Linked DNA regions of Homo sapiens: region 1 is linked to region 2. Evidence: promoter capture Hi-C in human tissues and cell types (Jung and others, 2019). All regions are on one chromosome and are shown on one strand. Each heading gives the region's core, a stretch centred on a gene start or on the middle of the fragment in contact. The rest is flanking DNA. Distances are from core to core; before and after follow the strand shown.

Region 1 (4,257 bases), core at 729-3,228, 190 kb before region 2:
CCTGCCAGCCTCCCCTGTCTCTCCCACAGCAGCTGTTTGCCCAACAGACCTGCCCCAGCTGTGGAAGGGCGAGGGTGCCCCCGGGCAGCCTGCCGAGGACAGCGTCAAGCAGGAGGGGCTGGACCTCACTGGCACGGCCGCCACCGCTACCTCGTTTGCCGCTCCCCCCAAGGTCTCACCCCCCCTCTCCCACCATACCCTGCCCAACGGACAGCCTACTGTGCTCACATCTCGGAGAGACAGGTACAGGGGTCCAGGCTGGGAGGGGCATCAAAGGCCTGCCTGGGGGTAGACCTGGCCCCCCACCCATGAGGGCTGACTGTGAGGGAGGGGGTGGAGCCCACGGACCGGAGGTTCACTCCCTCTCCACTCCCTCTCCCGGGGTGTACAGATGGTGCTTGGCCGCTGGGAAACCTGTATTGGGGCAGAAATGTCACCAGCAGGGGAGCTGGTGCTCAGCTGACTACAGGGCCGCTGGGGTCTTCAGGGTCCCTGATCGGCCACCTCCCTGCTGTCCTCCCAGCTCTTCCCACGAGGAGACCCCCGGCTCCCACCCCCTGTACGGACACGGAGAGTGCAAGTGGCCAGGCTGTGAGACCCTGTGTGAAGACCTGGGCCAGTTTATCAAGTAGGTGTCACCCCCAGCCCCTCCCCCAGCAGCCTTTCCCCACAGGGCCTCTCCCCCAACCCTGCCCACTAGCTTGCCCCTTCTGGGAGCCCTCCTCACTAGCTGTACTACTGTCCTCACTCCAGAGGGTTCTAGTTCTTTCTCTGCCCCCCACGGACTCCCTGATCACCCACTCCCTACCCTGTCTATATTTCTGGGCCTGCATTCCCCTGACTCCATCCCCAGCGCAGGGTGCGGGTAGGAGAAGGAGAGGACAAACATAAGCATTACTCCTCCCCCCACCCTCCCCTGCTCCCCTCCAGCCTCAGCCCCGGGGAGTGATGGCGAGTGACAGGCTGAGGGCCGCAGACAGGCAGGGCGGGAGGTGGACGGGCGGCTGGCAGCAGGCGGCCAGCTGCCACAGCCGTGCCAGGCTCTGTCACTGACTGATTAACTCCGCTGTCTCCCAGACCCTTGCAGCATCAGGGTCAAACAAATTGTTTTCACGCTTCGTCAGAGGTTTACTTAATTAGTTCATTTGCAATTAGATCTCTCTGTAGCTGGGATTTTAGCAAAGACATCAAAGGAGGCTGACGAGAAGGGAGAAGCCTTCCTCCATTGCCCCGTTTTTCCACCTCTTTCTCTTCTTTGTATCTCTTGGTCTGTCTGCTTTTCAGGCCATGGGTGGGATTAGAGGATAGGATGGGAGGATGGTGGCAGCAGGGAAACCGGAGCCAACTTTCTCTCCTCCTCTCTTCCCCTTGAAGACACCTCAACACAGAGCACGCCCTGGATGACCGGAGTACAGCCCAGTGCCGGGTACAGATGCAGGTGGTGCAGCAGCTGGAGATCCAGGTGTGGCCCGGAAGATGCTGGGGAGGGACATGGTGGGCTCCAGCCCCTGCCCACCCACAGCACTGACTTGCTAGGTGGGCTCTGTTGGGAGGGTCTCATGGAAGGGTCCTATGGTCAAAGCCACCATCTTATGCTTTCTAGGTCCTAATGACCATGGTTGTGAGGTGAGGACAGCTGGATTCTGAGGGGTAAACCAAGGTTGGGGGCGTCTCTGCTGGGAGGTCCAGAAGAGACTCACGCTACATAGAAACATCAAAAATAATTATTAGCAGCTAACATATGGAGCACTTACTTTGTGCTGTGCTAAATACTTTATATAGCTCAAGGAATCCTCTCAACAACCTTATGTGGTGGGTACCATTATTCTCCCCATTTTCCAGATGGAGAAAACAGGCACACAGAGCTAAAGTAACTTGCCTGTGAGTGGCAGAGCTGGGATTAGAACCCAGGCAGCCTGGCTTTCCCAAGGGAGTATCCCAGCTACTTGAGAGGGGACACTCAGCAGCACAGGGTTCCCAGGAAGCAACTCAGGGCAGCTCCTCTGTGCTTACCCATCTCCCTCCAGCACCTAGCAGAGCATCCTGCTGTGAGAGGGTGGTCATGAGAGACCCATTGAGTTTATGAATGGGGTGTCTGAGCCATTCATCAGTTCCTGCATCTGCATTCAGTATGCAAGGCCCTCACACACAAGTGCCACTGCACAAGGCACAGTGGCCGCCCCCCCGTGGGTGGGTAGGAAGAAGCCTCCCAACATGTAGAGGCAGGGATAAGCTCCAGCCAGGACGCACTGGGAGGGCTCAAATGGTCACCATCCAGGGGAGAAAGGGAGAGGCTTCATGGAGCTGGCAGCCCTTGAGGGGTAGAGCATTGCTGAGGCCTCCCTGGAGCGGGTCACAGAGGGAGCATGGATGCTGAGGCAAGGAGGCGAATGGGGGTGGGAATCGGCGGCCTTCTGAAGAGCCTGGCGGTGGAGGGGTGGGACAACACTGCCTCCAGGGTTCAGCCTCCCGCTCACCTCCTGCTTTGCCACCCTCCACAGCTCGCCAAGGAGAGCGAGCGGCTGCAGGCCATGATGGCCCACCTGCACATGCGGCCCTCGGAGCCCAAGCCCTTCAGCCAGCCAGTGAGTGCTGCTCCCCTCCCCGCCCCTCCCAGAGCCTTCCACAGACCCTGGAGCCTCGGGACCCCCACCCTCGGGCACTGGTCTCAGTACCCTCCCCGTTGCTCACAGCTGAACCCGGTCCCCGGCTCCTCCTCATTCTCCAAGGTGACCGTCTCTGCAGCAGACTCATTCCCAGATGGTCTCGTGCACCCCCCGACCTCGGCCGCAGCCCCTGTCACCCCTCTACGGCCCCCTGGCCTGGGCTCTGCCTCCCTGCATGGTGGGGGCCCAGCCCGTCGGAGAAGCAGTGACAAGTTCTGCTCCCCCATCTCCTCAGGTGAGGGTGGGCTGGGGGCTGCAGGGCGACAGCAGCGTGAGGCTGTTTTTCCCATCTGAGCCCCATATCTGGCTACCTCATCCTCTGCCTGTCTCCCCAGAGCTGGCCCAGAATCATGAGTTCTACAAGAACGCCGACGTCCGGCCCCCCTTCACCTACGCCTCCCTCATCCGCCAGGTGAGCAGGGCAGGTAGGAGGAGGGTGGGGAATGGCACACAGGCTGCTCCCCCAGCCCCCGCCACACCCCTGCCTCCAGGAAGGTCCTGGGGCCAAGCAATGGAGCTGTCCCGCTCCCTCTCACGTGGCGGTCTTCCCTCTCTGCTGTGCGGGGCTCTCCTGCAGGCTGGGCCCTGTCAGCCTGCTGCATAGGGTTATGTGTCTCTGGGGGTGCACACACTGTTCTTCTTACTGACACCCACCGTGGCATTCATGTGCTCATTTCCACGTACACAGCCCGCCATGATAGACTCAGGGTCACTCTTCGTCTCTCTCCTTTGTCTTTCCTCCCTCAAGCCCATGATCTTCATGTCACCAATGTTCACATAGTATTCACACTCAAGCATGAACTTACATCGACACATATGTCCTCCCTGATACCCACACAGGCATGTACACCTTCACACACATTCTTTCTGTCACACACACACTGTGCTTAGGGTACCTTTTGCCAAAATCAGGATAAATTCCAAACAGCCTCCACCCCGTGGACATCTCTCCCAAGAAAGACAGGACTGACTGCTTTCACCCTCGGTGCAGGGCCAGGTACTAAAGGCATTTTCTCTCCAGAAGCAGCTCCAATCCTTCTTGTACAAATACATAGCCCTTGGAGGCTCCTGCCCTCTTTATCCTTGGCCAAGCTATAACCAGCCTGTCCCTCTGAGGGGACCCACCAGCCACCACCCATCTTGTTATCCACACATTTCTGAGCAGGTCTTCTCACAAAGTGAACTCGGGGCTAGGCAGAAGGGAGAGGTACTGGGGGAGGGAACCCAGGGCTGTGACCCTTCGAGGCCCAGGCTGACGGTCCCTTTGCTTGTTCCTTCCCCGCAGGCCATCCTGGAAACCCCTGACAGGCAGCTGACCCTGAATGAGATCTATAACTGGTTCACCAGGATGTTCGCCTATTTCCGCAGAAACACTGCCACCTGGAAGGTGAAGCAGGCCCCTTCCACCTTCTGGGCCCCAGTCACCCTTGGACCTGCCATATCCCATGGAGACCAAGGCTGCCTAACAATTAGTTCCCTAAACCATTAGTCCTGCAGAAACAGCCACCCAAGGGCCCAGCCAGGGCTGCATGCCCACGCCCACCTCAGCAGGGGCTGTGGATTGTTCCATAACCTTTTAATGATCCCTTCC
Region 2 (4,023 bases), core at 98-2,597:
GGAAGCATTTGGGGGCATCCAAGAGAAATGGTGGGTCCGTGGGCATAGCAGGAGATTTGTTGAGTGAATGAGGGGGTTCTGAGGGCTCCAGGAGATGCGATGATGTGTCCAGGGCGGAGAGGGTAGAGGTGGGTTGGGGGAGCCAGAGGCTGCAGGACAGGCTACAGGACTGTCAAGGGGAATTTCTACATGCCCGTAAGGAATGAGGAGGTCTGGGTGCGCGCTGTCCCCGGATCCCCGCCCCCAGCCCCGGTGCTCCGCCGCCTGCCCGCCCGCCCGGGGCTTCCTAGGGAGGGAGTGGAGACTGCGGCGCGGCGCGGCGCGGCGCGGCGCGGCCTCGGTGAAGCCGCCTCGTCCCCGCCCCGCCGCGCCCCGACTCACATCGCCCCGCGGCCCGGGCGGCGCCGGGCCCCGCTCCCGGGTCCCGCTGCAGCAGCCGCCGCCCGCCCGGAGCTAAGGCCTCCCCGCCCCGCCCCGCCCCGCGGCCGCGGGGTCGGAGGTCACCGGCAGCACCAACGAGACGCTGCGGGCTGGCGGACCCGAGCGGGGGCGACCGGCACGCAGCCTAGAAGGTCCCTTTGGAGGACTTTGCAGTCGGGAGCAGTGAGCATGCGCAGACGCCAGAGGGCGCTCCTGGCCAGGGGCTGAGCAAGCCCGGAGGGGACAGGGCGGAGCCTGCGGCGGAGGCGGGGCGCGGAGGCGGGGCTGAGGACACCAAAGTTGGGGGTGGTCCGGGGAGCGGAAAGGGGACGGAGGGTTGGGCGAGAAACGAAGGGAAGGGGAGAGGGTCTGAAGGGACCTGAAAGGAGAAGGGCAAGACGATGGAACCTGGAAGAGGGTTGAGGGGAGGGGAAGGGGCCAGGGGGACCACTGGGGACAAGGGGGAGAGAACTGAAGGGAAACACGCGGAGGAGCGGGGCTGGGAGACCACAGGGAGAGTTTGGGGAGACCTGGGAACTGCGGAGAGACAGGGCTGCGGGCCCGGCGAGGCGTTTCCATTCAGCGAATGGTTGAAAACCCAGCGTAAACGCGGCTCCCGGCGTCTGCTGGATGCCTGCCGGGCGCAGTCCGAGCCAGAGAGCCCTTGCACCTGCATGGCAGAGGCCATGGAGCCCGCACATTTCCACCCTGAGATCCCATAAATGTGGTTTTGTTTTCCTTTTTTTTTTCCTCCCCCCAATCTGCAGCTCCAGGCCCCTCCCTGAGCCGCCCCTCTCCACCAGCCGGGGAGGGGCGGGCGGGGGCCGCTGGGGCGTGGGAGAGGAAGGGCCGCGCTATTAGGGCGGGCGGGGGCGGACGGGGGCGGGCGCTGAAGCCTTGGGGTGGGGACCGGGTGAGGGGCCTGACGGCAGAGTCGGTCCAGAACTGCCCGGACAGCGACGCACAGCGAGGGTGAGACCCCAGCGGAGTCCTGGTCCCCTCCCCTAAAATCCCAGCAGCCAGACCGGGAACCCCAGCGGACTCGGGAAACACCGCGTCCCAGCCCCGGAGGCGGGCCCGCCAAGTTCCAGAAAAACTCTGGGGATCTATCGAGAGGGCAGTTGGCGGGACTGGGCACTCCCCTTCCTTCTCCCTCCCACTGTCCCCAGAAATCTTCCCATCCCTCCACCTCCCCAAGCCCTAAGTCCTCTCGGGCTCTGCCCTTCAGGGCAGCGGGTGTTGGGGATGTCCAGCTCCTGAGCCCTCTTGCACGGAGGCTCTGCACGGAGGCAAGACAAGGGGTTCAGCTCTGTCCCTTATCTGAGGTGGGAGGGGGAAGGGAATTATGGAAGGAATCCAGCTGGCCTGTTAGTAAGGGTGTTCCAGTGCTAGGTGGAGGTGGAGTTTGGCTGCCTTTGGGGAGATTGGAAGGGTGAGGAATAGAGGCCTGATTTCTGAGTGTTGTTTCTGTGTTGGACAATTCTATGCAAACTAGAGCCAAAATGGAAGAGGGTGCAAGTCCCCTCCTGGGGCCCCAGACGCCCCCTCCTTTCTTGCTGCCTGGAGCAGGGGCAGTGCTGTTAGTGGCTACTCCTGGTGTGAACAGCCCATCCTGGCCACCTTCCACAGGAAACCTGACCTGAAGGACAGAAGAGGAAGGAAGCAGGTGGGTGTGAAGCCAGGAAGGAGGGAAGGGTGGCACAGGACATTTGAAGTGGGAGTGGAGGGGCGGTGCTGAGGAGGGTTCAGTGCTGGGAAGCAATATTAACTGTTACAGTCCAAACCCTCACCTCAACCCCAGTACGAATCCCTGGCCCAGTCTTAGAGGCCAGGGATTTGATGATGACCCTCCTGTGCCCAGCTACTTTCAGAATCTATCCCAGCTCTCAGAAGCCAGGTCCCCCTAAGGCTTCCCTTAGCCTCTGGTATGATCTTGGGCAAGTTAATTAACTTGTTTCAACTGTCAAGTGGAATGAAAGAGATTACCTCATAAGATTATTGTGAGGATGGACTATATTATGTAATATTCTAGAAGAGTCCTTGGCACAGAGTAAATATTATTAAAAAGTTTGCTCTGGTTATTTTTTTCTCCAGGGTTTTTGTATGTCTGTCCCGAGCTCTGATTGATCCCATTCTACCTGGTTTCATCTTTGTCTTACCCACTATGAGCTCCTTGAGGGCGGGGCTCATCTCTTCTCTACATTAATAGTCGCTTTTTTTTTTTTTTTTTTGAGACGGAGTCTCACTCTGTTGCCCAGGCTGGAGTGCAGTGGCATGATCTCAGCTCACTGCCACCTCTGCCTTCCAGGTAGGTTGGAGCGATTCTCCTGCCTCAGCCTCTGGAGTAGCTGGGATTACAGGCACACATTACCACGCCCAGCTTATTTTTGTATTTGTAGTAGAGATGGGGTTTCCCCATGTTGGCCAGGATGGTCTCGAACCACTGACCTCAGGTGATCTGCCTGCCTCAGCCTCCCAAAGTGCTGGGATTACAGGCATAAGCCACTGTGCCCAGCCAATGGTCACTTCTTCTTTTTTTTTTTTTTTTTTTTTGAGACGGAGTCTTGCTCTGTCGCCCAGGCTGGAGTGCAGTGGCGCGATCTTGGCTCACTGCAAGCTCCACCTCCCGGGTTCACACCATTCTCCTGCCTCAGCCTCCGGAGTAGCTGGGACTATAGGCGCCCGCCACCACGCCCGGCTAATTTTTTTAATATTTTTAGTAGAGAGGAGGTTTACACCGTGTTAGCCAGGATGGTCTCGATCTCCTGACCTCGTGATCCGCTTGTCTCGGCCTCCCGGAGTGCTGGGATTACAGGCGTGAGCCACCGTGCCCAGCCAATAGTCACTTCTTACCCCCAAGATATTATGGTCATATCAGGAGCTGCCGAGAGGAAAGCTGAAGAGATGAACTTAGATTATCCAATGCAATTGCTGCTATATATAAAAGTGCAAGGTGTTCCTCTGTCTTTGAGGAACTTATAGACTAGATTAGGAGCCGAGAGAGATGCAGGGAGCAAAGAGAAAAACATTAGGTGCTAAATCTTGGGGCACTGCTTGCTTCAGGAGCTCAGGGAAGGGAGAGCTGGTGTGGTCACAGAGGCTGAGAAGGGCTTCCTAGTAAGGGGATCCTTTAACCAGAGGCCCAAGCCTATATAGCTGGAAAACCTGGGCCCATGTAGGAAGTTGTGAACAAGGAGGCTCACTGGGGCTGTGGGTGCATGGTGAGAAACGGTGGAAGTTAAGGCTGATGAGGTAAGGAGAGAGTGTCCAAAGGCCCACCAGAAAGGCAAAGTGCCCTCTCCTTCTACCATGGGCCTCCTCTTACCTCCATCCTGATCTTGGGAGACCCCAGAATTTGAACTTCAGAAATTCTGGACCAAAAGACCTGACCTCAAGTCCTGGCTCTGCCACTTACTAGCTGTTTGACCTTGGGCATGCTACTCAAGGTCTGATCCTCAGTTGGGCCATCTGTAAGATGGGGATAATGCTACCTAAGTCGTTTGGGTGTTGGGAGGACTGAGGGAAATAATATCTATAAAGCACTTAACACTTCCTAGCACATTGTAACGGCCTAATACATGGAGGTGTTCTTATTGTTTTGGG

Evidence for each region. The method cuts DNA at HindIII sites, captures the fragments that hold promoters and counts their contacts. A contact is called where the count stands out against the background at its distance.
Region 1: a contact is called between a fragment that was not itself captured here and the fragment with the promoter of PRICKLE4 in region 2, in 1 of the 25 tissues and cell types used here (lymphoblastoid cells).

Annotation. Positions count from the first base shown.
Region 1 is chr6:41,587,270-41,591,526 of GRCh38, forward strand. It overlaps FOXP4 (forkhead box P4), which reads left to right. Exons shown (of 17, transcript NM_001012426.2): 7 at 30-243; 8 at 524-628; 9 at 1,375-1,462; 10 at 2,502-2,585; 11 at 2,694-2,901; 12 at 3,002-3,078; 13 at 3,952-4,053. Among named protein-coding and RNA genes, the nearest start is that of MIR4641, 9.3 kb to the right of the region's middle. The HindIII fragment of the contact is 5,524 bases long and covers 1-4,257 here.
Region 2 is chr6:41,779,435-41,783,457 of GRCh38, forward strand. PRICKLE4 (prickle planar cell polarity protein 4) reads left to right here and starts at 1,348. Exons shown (of 8, transcript NM_013397.6): 1 at 1,348-1,392; 2 at 1,916-2,086. It overlaps FRS3 (fibroblast growth factor receptor substrate 3), which reads right to left and starts at 466. Exons shown (of 7, transcript NM_006653.5): 1 at 382-466. RefSeq lists silencers at 192-341, 372-781, 1,062-1,131. The HindIII fragment of the contact is 3,550 bases long and covers 1-2,484 here.